Linked DNA regions of Homo sapiens: regions 1, 3 and 4 are each linked to region 2. Evidence: promoter capture Hi-C in 16 types of primary human blood cells and fetal thymus (Javierre and others, 2016). All regions are on one chromosome and are shown on one strand. Each heading gives the region's core, a stretch centred on a gene start or on the middle of the fragment in contact. The rest is flanking DNA. Distances are from core to core; before and after follow the strand shown. Region 1 holds the start of RABGGTA (Rab geranylgeranyltransferase subunit alpha). Region 2 overlaps CHD8 (chromodomain helicase DNA binding protein 8). Region 3 holds the start of DCAF11 (DDB1 and CUL4 associated factor 11). Region 4 holds the start of IPO4 (importin 4).

Evidence for each region. The method cuts DNA at HindIII sites, captures the fragments that hold promoters and counts their contacts. A CHiCAGO score of 5 or more calls a contact.
Region 1: the fragment with the promoter of RABGGTA here is called in contact with a fragment that was not itself captured in region 2 in 1 of 17 cell types (non-activated CD4 T cells); the score reaches 6.5 in non-activated CD4 T cells.
Region 3: a contact is called between the fragment with the promoter of DCAF11 here and a fragment that was not itself captured in region 2, in 1 of 17 cell types (non-activated CD4 T cells). The highest score is 6.8, in non-activated CD4 T cells.
Region 4: a contact is called between the fragment with the promoter of IPO4 here and a fragment that was not itself captured in region 2, in 1 of 17 cell types (activated CD4 T cells). The highest score is 6.6, in activated CD4 T cells.

What each region holds. Positions count from the first base shown.
Region 1 is chr14:24,270,347-24,273,374 of GRCh38, forward strand. It overlaps RABGGTA (Rab geranylgeranyltransferase subunit alpha), which reads right to left and starts at 1,251. Exons shown (of 17, transcript NM_182836.3): 1 at 1,141-1,251; 2 at 767-823; 3 at 491-601; 4 at 1-112. The coding sequence starts at 769. It also overlaps a transcript of NOP9 not described here. RefSeq lists enhancers at 569-778, 1,519-1,598 and silencers at 969-1,258, 1,329-1,428. The HindIII fragment of the contact is 2,930 bases long and covers 1-1,915 here.
Region 2 is chr14:21,432,420-21,435,533 of GRCh38, forward strand. The region is part of intron 1 of CHD8 (chromodomain helicase DNA binding protein 8); the gene reads right to left. Among named protein-coding and RNA genes, the nearest start is that of CHD8, 22 kb to the right of the region's middle. The HindIII fragment of the contact is 1,326 bases long and covers 823-2,148 here.
Region 3 is chr14:24,113,432-24,116,656 of GRCh38, forward strand. DCAF11 (DDB1 and CUL4 associated factor 11) reads left to right here and starts at 1,346. Exons shown (of 15, transcript NM_025230.5): 1 at 1,346-1,862; 2 at 1,951-2,318. The coding sequence starts at 2,164. It overlaps NRL (neural retina leucine zipper), which reads right to left and starts at 1,518. Exons shown (of 3, transcript NM_001354768.3): 1 at 1,291-1,518. RefSeq lists enhancers at 599-1,314, 896-1,035, 1,276-1,425. The HindIII fragment of the contact is 1,852 bases long and covers 754-2,605 here.
Region 4 is chr14:24,187,542-24,190,846 of GRCh38, forward strand. IPO4 (importin 4) reads right to left here and starts at 1,275. Exons shown (of 30, transcript NM_024658.4): 1 at 1,178-1,275; 2 at 1,011-1,097; 3 at 803-882; 4 at 675-716; 5 at 126-255; 6 at 1-38. The coding sequence starts at 1,246. TM9SF1 (transmembrane 9 superfamily member 1) reads right to left here. Exons shown (of 6, transcript NM_006405.7): 5 at 2,839-3,112; 6 at 1,608-2,267. The coding sequence ends at 1,874. RefSeq lists silencers at 271-481, 727-846. The HindIII fragment of the contact is 6,803 bases long and covers 67-3,305 here.

The DNA.
Region 1 (3,028 bases), core at 1-2,500, 2.8 Mb after region 2:
GCTGCTGGAGCACCTCTCGTCGGCAGTTCCAGAGGGTGGCAAAATCAGGGTTGGCTCCCAGAATCTGGCTTGTCAGTTCCAGCACGGACTCATCCAGCTCACCAGCCTGGCGCTAAGAAGATAGGTGGCAGGGTTAGAGATCATATAATTTTCCCACTACAGGACTAAATAACGTAAACTTAAAACCATCCAATATTCTGTGAATCCCACATTATACAACAGGTACTATGAACCATGCTTTATGGCCTTACAGGTATTCTCTCATTTAATCTTCACAACAGCCTTATGCAGTAGGTGCAATTATTAGCCCCATTTTACAGATGAGCAAACTGAGGCCCAAAGAGATTCAGCAACTTGCCCAAAGTCATACAGTTATAAGTGAGATAACCCAGAATTGGATCTAGGCAGTCTGACTCTAGGGACCAGCTCTTGGCCTCTGCACTATACTAAGGGAGCTACTTGGGGTCGGGGCTACCTCTGAGGGCCCCACCTTCTGGAATACGGCCTGGGTGGCTGACTGGTATAGCTTCAGCTTCTGCTCTCGCTCTAGCCTTTTGGCCTCCGCCTGCTCTTCTGACGTCTTCACCTTCAGGCGTCCGTGCTACAAGGATGAACGGGTTGGAAGAGTGCAGGTTGCCTTGCAGAAGCTGACCTGCAAAAACCCCACACTGTGGAGCCCTAGGTTCATACGGGGCAACCATGGCACTGCCACTGGGGGTGAGGGCGCGGGCCTGCGGAGGTGAAGGGCTGGGCTCAGGGTTCTCACCATGGTGCCGGCTCAGGGTTCAAGACAGGGGAAGGGTCCAGTGGTAGCCCTTGAAGTCTGAGGAGAGAAGTGTCAATCACGTAGCCCCGCCCCTACTAGCTCCGCCCACAGCTGTGTCCGGAAGCAGCAAGCGTGCCTGGGCAGAGACCCCCAGAGTGTAAAGAGGTCCTGGGACAGGCTTTGCACGTTCCACAAGAGGTGAGCACCCGGACTAGGACTTCCATCCGTGTGGCCCTTCCTATAGCCCGATTCGCCCGGGCCAGAGCGCGAGCCGGGGCACCTGGGCGTTGGGGACCACTCTGCTCCCCAAAGGTTGCCGCTACCCGCCCGTCCCACGGCTCCCGGGCACCCCCGCCCCCCGCGGGCGGACCCACCTGCGCTGGGAGGAGGCGCGGGGGACGCGGAGCTGCGGCGCCCGCCACAGAGCCCAGGCGCTGGCTAGAGCGGCGCCACGTCCCGGCTCATCGAAACGCAGCGCACTCTGCAGGCTTGGGGAGGGACTTGCGGCGGAAGAGGCCGGCTCGGAGGCGCGTGCGCGGGGGCTCTGCGCTCGCTGTCCGGAAACGCCTCGTACCTGTTAGCCACCTGGTGTGTACGAGTGCGCACGGGCGACTGTAGCGTGCGTGTGAAATGGGGGGAGGACCATGCCAGTTGGTAACTCAGAGTGCAATGTAGTTAGTGGAAGAGGTTTCTCCAACAGCCGGAAACCCGCACCTTCACTACTCCACTGACCTCACCCTGGCCACACCGACAGCCTTCTAGATGTCAAATCTAACAGGGGGAGTTTCCTGTCATTTTCTCTAACCTCTGAAGCATTTGACGCTACCCATTTCTTTATACTTGACACCCCCATTCTGGCTTCTCCTCCTGCACCTCTGCCTCTCTCTTCTCATCTGTTCACCTCCACCCCTAAATGTTGGTGATCTCCAGGGCCCTTTCCTCACCCCTTTTTCACTTCACCCACTGTTCCTGGGAGAATGTTTAAATGTAAGCCTTCAACTGCTTCGAGTTGGAGCTCCTCAGAGCTGTTTTGGCCCACAAATCTGGCATTACACTTTCTCTGGGTGAGTTCATCCACACTCATTGTTTTAATTACTACCTGTAAATTGATGACACCCAAATTTATATCTCCAGCCCAGATGTCTTGCAAGCTTAAATAACAATAAATAATATACATGCACATACATATTCAAACACCTGTTGGATATCACCTGGTGTCCCAGAGACACCTCAAACTCCAAAAGCCAAAAGGTATAAATTATCTTTCATCCATCCTGTCTAAACATTGGCCTTTATGTTTTCTATTGTAGTGAATGGCACTATTTCCTCCTCACTTCTTAAACTCGCTTAAATACTCTTTCTCTTCCCACTGCCACTAGGAGTTCAAACTCCGAATTTCTTCTCCAGATTGTTGAAAGTCTTTTCAGTGTTCTCCACCTCATCCCTTGTTATCAGTCCATCCTCTGTGCTACTGAATCCATTTTTCTAAAATGCAGATTTGACGTCATATCTGTGCCTAAAAGTGCTGAGTGGCTCCTTTTCAGGATAGAATTGTAATCTCTCAGCTCAGCACATCAGACCTATTGGCATTTGGGCTCTGCCTACTCTCTGGCTGTATATCCTGCCTGACCCTGCCAAAAACTCTTCATGACAGCCTACAGAAATACTTGCAGTTTCCTAAATATGTTAGCCTGTTCCCTCTTGACTCTCCTTTCTCCACACTCCTCCTTTGCCACAGTAATTCCTGTTTATCTTTAAGATTTAACTTTTTGAACTCCACAGTACAAAGAAAAAAAAATGTAACTCAAGTGGCACCTCGAGGAAGTTCTCTAAAATGCCCCAGTCTGATTTGATAGACCTTCATATGTACTTTTAAAGACTGTGATTTTTTTCCCTGTGCCTACTGCAAAGAAGGTTTTCTGGTGGAGCCTTTATGAGGTTCAGGGTGGCTAGTGAGTGTGTGTGTACCACACGTACACGTGTGTGATGTCTTTGCGAATAGTGTGTCCATGTGGCATGTGTGTGTTTATAACTCACACCTGGGTAAGAAGGTAGTGCTTTAAATTTTTTTTTTTTTTTTTTTTGAGACAGGGTCTCACTCTGTTGCCCAGGCAGGAGTGCAGTGGCACGATCTCTGCTTACTGCAACCTCTGCCTCCTGGGTTCAAGCGATTCTCCTGCCTCAGCCTCTGGAGTAGCTGGGACTACAGGCATGCACCACCACACCCGACTGATTTTTGTAGTTTTAGAAGAGACGGGGTTT
Region 2 (3,114 bases), core at 236-2,735:
CATATTAATCTATAATGGGATTTTTGTTCTGAAGTCCCCTCTCAAGAAAACTTTCTCATATTTAAGATAAAAAAGGTCAATTGCAAGGGATTCAACATTGTTTCCAATTTATATTCCCAACTTCCTCTTACCATCTCTTACATATATTTTACATTCCAGTCCAACTAGACTACACAATTCCCTTAATGTGATTCCTACCTGTGTGACTTTGCTTATGATGCTGTGCTTTCTGCCTGGAACACGTCCTCTCCATCCCAATGCCAATAATCTCTCGCAGCTAAAATCCTACCAACCCTCAAAGGTCTTCTACTCCATTAAGTGAGCCCTGAACCTCTGACGCTTTAACAACTGAGCAACTTGTGATGACTTGATCCCTCCACCTCCTTTAAATACCCACACCATTGTTTATACCTTAAAACACTTATATTTAATATTTTATTATAATGACCTAAGTCTGTAATATATCCTCTGAAGGCCCAAATGGTTCCTTTGCGCAAATTGTAAAAAGTTGCCCACTTCTCAAGATGCCTGGAAAACTGCCATACTAAATATATAAAAATTTGTTATGAATGTATGCAATGTACACCCTCCACAACTCTGTACCATGGCCCAGCTCCTCTTTCTCTGGGAGAAAGTTCTTGGATGGTGGGGACTATGTTTTATTTATCTGTGGATCCCCTAAGAACCAGCAGGACATAGCACATATAGTAGCTAATCAAAAAACAGTTAATGAATTATACTTGCTCGCATTATCTGGAGTAAACCATTCGATCCTCACAGAAACTAAATGGTATCCTTTGATTCTAACATGAGATGGTAAAAAGCTTCCTATCTTGAAAACATGTCTTATGAATGGCTGAAAGTAGGTTCACAAAATCCATGTCTAGGGTTTTAAGTTCATGAAACTAGTGGAAAAAAGAAAAGCTATCAAAGACAGGGAAGTATATCACCATAAAACCCAAATATATGAAAAAGAAATATCTGTTCTTTGTATATGATGACAGTATTTGACAATACAGGAAAGTCTTGCTTGGTAAGACCATTTCTCCTAACTTTTGGAAGACACCAGATAAGAAATTTGTCAGAGGCACAGTCCTGACTGAAGGAGACTTTTCCATATAACCCCCATGCTATGTTTTTTCCTTCCCAACCCATCTCACTTATCCTTATAAAACAATATAATATGGGTTAATATATCAGATACTCCAAAACAGACAAAGAGAACAAACACGTGAGTCAAAATTACAAAGTATACATGGTATCTCCAACAATGTTAAACAAGATCGTCCTTGCTTCAGTAATTGCATACTTTTCATATCTCAACCCAAGATCCATACCATCTCCCATTCCTGGCTAGCCTATTCCACCAGCTCATTCCAGCCTCTCATATCTAATATTTGCCTCCAAATTACTCAAAATGGCAATCAGGAAAGTTATGAATGCTTCCTGATTTAACGAAAACCTACTCAATAACTTGATATTAATAAATTTCCTTCCCATTATCATCAGCTTTTTTCCAGTATACCTACTTTGGCACCAATTATTTTTCATTCTCTACTCACCGTCAGAAGTTAAAGTATCTACAGCTAGGAGTAATATAAAAACAACAGTGAAAGTTTCTTTTTTTTTTTTTTTTTTTTTCTGAGACAGAGTTTCACTCTTGTCGCCCAGGCTGGAGTGCAATGGCGCGATCTCGGCTCACCGCAACCTCTACCTCCTGGGTTCAAGCGATTCTCCTGCCTCAGCCTCCCGAATAGCTGGGATTACAGGCCTGCGCCACCACACTCGGCTAATTTTGTATTTTTAGTAGAGACAGGTTTTCGCCACGTTAGTCAGACTGGTCTCGGACTCTCGACTTCAGAGGTGAGCCGTCGCCTCAGCCTCCCAAAGTGCTGGGATTATAGGCATGAGCCACCACGCTGAAAGTTTCTACTAACCAGAAGTTTACGTTGCAAATAGTTTATAGCCTGCTCCTTATTCCATGGAGTATTTTGTCGCTTCCATGATTCCTTGCTATTTGTTAATTCTAATGCTCTTCCTTTCCCCCATAATGATCCAATCTTAGGCCCAGATTTTTTTTTTTTTAAATAGGAGAAACAAGGCTGATGGTTTCTGATGAATCTCCTTACCCCCATATGACTTAGTATAAGCTTTTTAAAGATCAATGCATTGTCATTTATCTCTCCCTTCCCAATTTTCGAACCAAATTTCTGCTTCTTCTAGTTCGGTCTATGCCTAATAATTCAAAAACCTTGCCACCAAGTATCATTACTTCTCAGTCCCATCATTCTCACCTATACTGACCCAATTCATCTCATATTTTTATGCTAGTTTCCTACTTCTTTTCTAGTTCCTATCTTTAAACTGTCCTTGACTCTTACAAGATTAAACCTTCTCCCAACATACATCTAACTTTTTTTAACCCTCCTTCTACTACTACTTGTGGGTCACCCTGGCTATATCCACATACGGCCTATTTATTCTACCAAGCTCATCTATCTCATGAATCCTCTCAACCATCTCATGAATTCTCTTTCCTTGATTCAAACCCTAATAGCAAAAATGAACAGATGTTAAGTTGGTTTCAATGCAAAGTAACTGCCTAGATAAAGAAGTCACACCAACTTTTATCATATTAAGAATGAAAAGCCAGTGTTGGCCCACCAGTCCCCAAAAGAGAAACACATGTATGTGCTCAAAAGGAAAGACAAAACTTAGTGGTTGTACTTAGTCACTTTCCATAATTACAAACTAATGACCAGAATCATGACAGAAATCTTGGAGGGCATGTAGGGGGTGAGGGATGGCAGTGGAAGGGAAAAGTAACAAACTAGTCAGTTAAGGTTAAAATCCAAGCCCATCTATCTATAATCGCCAAGTAACAATACAGTTACCTGTAGAAAAATACTTTATTATATATGCCAGTATAGCCCTTCACTTCATCTCCTTCTTAAAGGTGAAACTACTGCTTCCCCTTGAGACAAGTACAAACTGATGTTCTTCTGCAGCTTTACCACCTTTAATACAGTTCTTGATTTTTTTGGAAATCTAGAGTCCCAACTCTCTCATTCTTATTTGACATTATTCCTCACCCTTGCCCATTTCTATAATAAA
Region 3 (3,225 bases), core at 96-2,595, 2.7 Mb after region 2:
AATAAATAAAGATCCCGATTTTCCAGGCTGGATAACCCAGAAACCACGGAATCCTAAAGTCTCAATAAACGTTAAAGCACAGATAGTAAGTAATCTGGCAATAGAGGATGGGCGCCCAGCAGACCGCCTACATAATCAGTGGAGCCGAGTGCAAGATGAAAATACCAGGCACTTGCTTTAAAATTACTAATAATTTCAAGACCGTTAACACTAGAACATTAAACCAAACATTCAGGACCCTTCTAAGCGCAGAGGCCATCAAAGCTAGCCCTGGTGACAAGCTCAGGTCTCCGGATCTAGAGACTAGGAGACGTCGCCCGAAAGCTGGCCAAACCCTCGCCCTCACTGGGAGAGGCCCCAGGAGGGCCCAAGAAGGCCACGAGCCCTCGCTCCCATCCCTGCCCTCAGGAGCGGGCGGAGGGAAGCTCGCAGCTTTCCCAAGGAAGTGCAGGCTGCAGGGAATGAAGTTCAGCTCGGACCCTGAGCCTCTGAGCCCGAGACAGCAAGGTCATTCAACCCACACGTCCCCACCCAGCCAGGGCGAGGATCAGAGATGTGGCAACTCCCGGCCTTGGACTCAGGCTTGTTACTCATAAACCCGCAGGAGGGGGCAGGAGGGGGCAGGAGGCGGCGAGCGCGCACCCTGGACCCGCGGCCGGGGGCGGAGAGGCACCGCGAGGACAGAGGGACTAGCGAAGGTCTGCAAATCCCGGAGGGCCAAGGGAGCGTCAAAGGGGACAGCGGAACCGGAAAAGCTTTGACAGAAAGACGCGTGTATTAGGGAACGTCTGCAAAGACCGCGGCGGAAAGCCAGGGATTGTCTTAAAAAATTGTCAGACCGGATAAAGGGAGGTCTAAAAGGGGACCGTCCCAAGAGCAAGGCTTCCAAAAGCTAAGCCCGGAAGGACGGTATGGAGGTCTACTGGGACGCTGGGCACCCCTTAGGGCAGAACCGACTGGAGCTGCGGCCAGCGACAGAAGAACGGCTCCAGCTGGACAGGGGAAGCAGTGGGGAGAAAGGAGGCCCTTGGGCACTGTCTGAAAAGTGCGATGCCAAATGATCTTTAGGGACAGACAGTAAATTATATCCCTTGCTAAAATACCTCTCGGTAGCGAACCACCAAACGTTTCTTTTTTAAGCCCCGCCTCTCAGCCGTTACGCCTAGTTCGGCTGTCTCTGATTCAGGAAGCTGGCAGTTCCCACTTACTCCTCCCCAGCAAGAGCTAACAGCCCTCCTTGGGTGTGCACTTTCTCCTCCCCTCAGGCACCTCGCGCATTCTCCCGCCTACCTATCAATCATCGTGCTCCGCTGTCCAGTTGGCTGGCCAAGGGGGCGGGGCCGTCGTGTGACGTTTGCAGCCCGCCGGCCAGGAAGCCGCGAGATGCGTGACGAGCGAAGCGCGTGACGGAGGAGCGGTTGGCCAACGCAGTGGCGGCAGTCGGTGTAAACAAGGCCTCGCGCCGCTGCGGGTCCTGCGACCGCTCCTGGCTGGTGGGTGGTCTCGCGTGGGGCGGTTACCGCCGGCTTCAGTGGGAGGTGCTTCTCGGCTTCCTCCCCCTCATGGCGTACACACCCCCGGCGCACCACGTGGGCGTGAGGCGAGGAAGGAGGGGTGTTAGGCCAAATTCTATTTTCATTGGCTGTCACTGCTGCCGGCCTTTGTAAGGGGGCGCTCTGATTGGTCGATAAGGTGGGGGCGTCGAGGGTCTTTGAGTCCTAAGGCTTCTAATTGGTTAGATGAGATAAGCTAGTGAAGCGCTTTCTTCCGAGAGGGATTTCGATTGGTCGGTCAGAGAGGTTACCTGGAAATCCAACACCGCCCAACACCCCTCCCGCTCCCCAGTCCGGGGACTTCGATAGGTGAGTTTGGTGTAGAAAACAAATCTTTCTTCAGTTGGTGAGCTAGGGTAGCGCACTACGGTTCACTCTTGCTTTCTTTGCTTCACAGGATTGGAGAAGGTTTGTGTTCCCGACGCCTTGGTAGTTGGCATAGGCTAAAGAAAAGGGATCTCAGCCCCGAGGAAGGGTCACCCTCCTAGAGATAGCTACTACCCCGTCTCAGGAGACCCTGGTATTTCTAGAGCACGCTTTGCTTTCACCAAACCCAAGGAGGTGACAGGAGGAGCCCCCGCACAGGACCTAAGAATGCTGTGACCAGAAGATGGGATCGCGGAACAGCAGCAGTGCAGGATCCGGGTCCGGAGACCCCTCCGAGGGCTTGCCCCGAAGAGGGGCTGGCCTGCGTCGGAGTGAGGAAGAGGAAGAAGAGGATGAAGATGTGGATCTGGCCCAGGTACTGGCCTATCTCCTCCGCAGGTAACTTACCCTCTGGTGTGACCCCCAGCAGGTGCTACCACAGTGCCTTGATCCCAACTCCAGGCAGGAAAATTACAGAGGTTAGGAAATGGGATTCGCTCAGGACAGCTGTTCTGTTTGAGCTGAACAGCCTTTCCCTGCTGGGCACCCATGGCACTCAGCTCCATACCCAGTAAGAGTGGTTCTTACCTAGGGAGGGTCACCAAGAGGACCTGCTCATGTGTTTGAGGGGCTATTCAAGGGAGCCTGTCTCTGTGACTACACAAATATAGTCTATTTTCCAAGTAAGCTTGAAAAAAAAAAGGGGGGGGTCCTAGTGGGAAAGGAGTGATGTAAGGGGTGAAGAGATGGGAAGGGAGTGTTGAACTTTTTAGTAAGGCAGTTGACACATGATATGAGGCCACTTCGATTTACTTGAAAAACAAGTTTAATTTGCCCTGACTCTAACCTGTTCTTGAGGAAAGAATGCCTTGAAGGGAGAGACCACCTGGAATTGACTGGAAAAGGGTGCAGCTGGCTTTCTTTCTTTGCTTATGGCTCTTTGAGGAGAAGATGGGTTTGGGGGTCCCTTCAGAATATTGTATTCTTTTTTGTTTGTGTTTTGTGTTGTTTTTAGTAGACATAGACAGGGCTCACTGTGTTCCCCAGTCTGGAGAACGGGCTATTCACAGGTGTGATCAAGTGCACACCACAGCCTGCAACTCCTGGGCTCAAGCAATCCTTGCCTCCCAGGTAGCTAAGACTACAGTTGCACACACCACCGCACCCAGCTTAGAATATTGTCTTCTGTGGTGGACTTCTCAGGCAGAGGCTCAGAAGGAAATGCTGTGAGGATGTTTAGCTTGTTGGGAGGTCAACTTAGTAGGTCATGTCCACAGCGTATTGGTCTTGCTCTTGTTCTAAGGAA
Region 4 (3,305 bases), core at 25-2,524, 2.8 Mb after region 2:
CGGGAGGTCACCACCACACTTAGCAGCAAAAGCCCCATCTGTCCAAGAATAGAGGATGGGAGAGCAAGCTTACAAGGTCTATCCAGCCTCTCAGGCCCTCCCTCCTGCCAACCATGTGATGGTACCTCTCTCTCTGGGCTGTGGGGGCTGTGGGTACTGTGCTGAAGCAGCTGCAAAAGCTGTGGCCAGGCCTCCAAGCCTTCCTTTCGAAAAATGGTGGCTGAGAGCTGGGCCAGGCTGAGGCTCACACAGTGCCTGCAAACAGGAGAGATCTCCTCCAATCACCCTTCAATACCTTCCTCTGCACACAGTGGCCAGGCTCAATGGGGCAGCCAGGACAGAAACTTTCAGGAGGTGTGGGCACAGGGTCTTTGCCAAGTTGGGACACATGAGACAGCAGCTCAGAGGGAGCCCAACAGCACTGTGGGCATGTAATCTGGTAAGTTCAGTCTAACTTAGCCTGAATTTCAGTCTTATTCTTCTGACTTGGGTTTGGCAGATCATCATCACCCTTCCTCAAGAACTTTAGTCTTCAAAACAGCCTTAAAATCCTCACTCCACCTTGCGTCTAGAACTGAAGTCCCTGCCCCACAAGTCCCAGCCTGGAGCCGAAAAGGAAGGCAGAAACCTAGACAAAGTCGTCAAGATCCCGAGAGAAGTGGGTAGGTACTTACTCTGTTTCTCTCTGCAGGGCCGTCAGGATCAGGGACTTGAGGCTGGAACACAGGTGGCAGGTGTTTGGTACCCAGCCTGCCCAAGAAAAGTCTCCGCCTGGCCCCGCCCCACCCCAGGCCCAGCCCACCTCTCCCGTTGCTCCGCCGCCAGCCGTCGCCAGCGGGTGTTCAGTCGTCTGCGGGTCAGCACGGCCGCAAACTGGCGGATCTAGGACGAGGAAGCAAGCACGTGGGGGTCCGGGCAGGAAGGTGCTGAGCGGACCGCAGTGGGCGAATACTGGGGCTTGACCGGTGGCGTACAGTGGGAAGCTCGGAGGGGAGAGTCAGGGGTCTCACCTGGGGGTCGGCCGCCGAGGCTAGCAGGTCGCAGAGAGCCGGCAAAGCGGCGGGGGCCCGAAGAACGATCTGGAGCTGTTCCGTGGCCTGGGGGGAAGCTAGGGGTGAGAGTTGGGCCTTTCCCGCAACCTCCCGCTCGCCCTGGCCCGGTTACGCCTGCTCCGTACCCGACGGATGCGCTCGGTGTCCGGTAGCAGCAGCTCCCGTAGGAGCTGCTCTAGCCCGGCTGACTCCATGGCAGCAACTGAGCCGCCGCTACTGGGCCGAAAAGGGGAGGGGGAGGGACAGCACGTGGAGGTTCTGACACCCACTTCCGGAGGAAAGGGCGTTGCTGCACGCCCCGCGGGTTGCCAAGGTGATTCAATTCGCTTCCCACAAAGAGGTCCGGCTCCTCCACTTCCGTTAGGCTGAGCACCGGCTGAATCGCGGAAACCCGACTCTGGCAATGTAGGTTCCCCACGCCGGGAGTTCCCAAGCTGGGTTGGAGAACTCGAGCTTCGGGCATTCAGTGGCCAGCTCGGCTTTATAAAGGACCGTGCCCTTAACAGCAGGGCTCGAGTTCCTATATCCAGACCAAAACCTCCAACTGCATGAGCCTTTTTCTTAATAAATTTTATTTTGGTAATTGTAAAAAGAAAAATCAGGACCAAAACTAAAGGCAACTTAAAAAGTTCAAATATATAATCCTTATGTGATAGAGATTTATAATTTCCAGGCCCTCTCTGGGGAAGGAATGCCCAAAGGGCAAAAGGGAAGGCAACAATGCCATCACACAATTCAGTCAATCAGAAGAGAAGCTGGTAGGAGAGTTCAACAGGGCATGAAGAAAGGGAGAGAACAGCAATAGTTCTGCCATACAGAACTCAGTCCATCTTGAGGTTAACATAGATATACCGGATGAACTTTAGGGAAGAAAAAAAGGAGATGGTGCCCAGCATGAGGAAGAAGACATAACCAGTGAGTAAGGAGTAGCCGAAGAACTCTACTGTCTGTACTGCCCCAGACATGTTGGAGCGCCGGGCATAATAGAAAACTGAGTAGAGGAAGATGAAGAGGCCGGTGGAGCCAACACTCAGCACAGATCGCCACCACCAGCGGTAATCCTCCCCAGACAACTGGAAGTAGGTGAGTGCAATGGAGATGCAAGCCCCCACACTCAGCAGGATGGCGAAGACAAAGAAGAGGATGCCGTACAAAGTGTACTGCTCCCGACCCCATACTGTGGCAAAGATGTAGTACAGCTCCACAGAGATGGCACTGTGAAGAAAAGAGATGATACACAGCATTAAAGGGCTGTGCACCATCAGCACAGTGGCTGGGCTGAAATCCAGCCCCCACCCTCTCCCATGTTGCTGGGTCATTGTGAAAAGTGAGTTCACTCCACTCTCTGCCCCAGATCTCCTGGCTTCATGGGGATTTTTTGCCTATGATTAGCCGCTCTCACTTCAAGAATATCTTCCCTAATAGATTGAGGGCAGGGATCTTGTCCATTTTATTCCACTTTATTCTTTGCCTGGCACAAAGAGGTATTCAACAAAGTAAATGGGTCATCAAATGGGCTTTAAACCCCACATGATGTCCATAGGCATTAAAGTCAGAAACCAGGAAGGTGAAGGGGGAAATGTCTCCGGAGAGCTTTATAAGTGAGACACTCTCATATCATTCAAGCTCAGTCCTGCTTGGGGATAGGAGGAACCATTTAATGATCTCTGAATGGTACCACTGAACCAGGGATCAACGGGTTGGGTTAGGGTACTGGATGAGTAGGGACAGGAAAAATTGAGGTCAGGAACCTGACAGTAATAGCCATGGAATAAAGGGAGGATACCTGAAAGGCAGGAAGCCTCCAACAGTCATGTGGATGACAGTAGACTTGTACCAGGGCTGGGGTGGAATCTCCCGGGCGATGTTCTTGGTGCGACAGGGTGCATCAAAGGGGCTGGCGTTGTTCTTCCCAAAGATGCCTCCAATGACAGTGAGGGGAAAGCCCACCAGCAGCCAAACCGTCAGAAGCAGCAGGATGGTTGTGGCTGGCAGAGCCTGTGTCGAACCATTGGCCCAATGCACTGAGTTCACCACACTCCACGTCAGGAAGAAAGGCACTGCAGGGATGGGCCCCCGGAGGGAGGGTCAACACTAGGAGCTACATCTCTAAGGGCACCCACTTACATCCAGGACCAAAAGGGGAGGGGGCTGAAGCAGCCTGCCACTCTAACGGCAGACTCATGCTCCTGGATGTCCCTGCAGAGTCGACTGCCTTCACCTCCACCCTTTCAGGTCCCATTATTCTTTGTT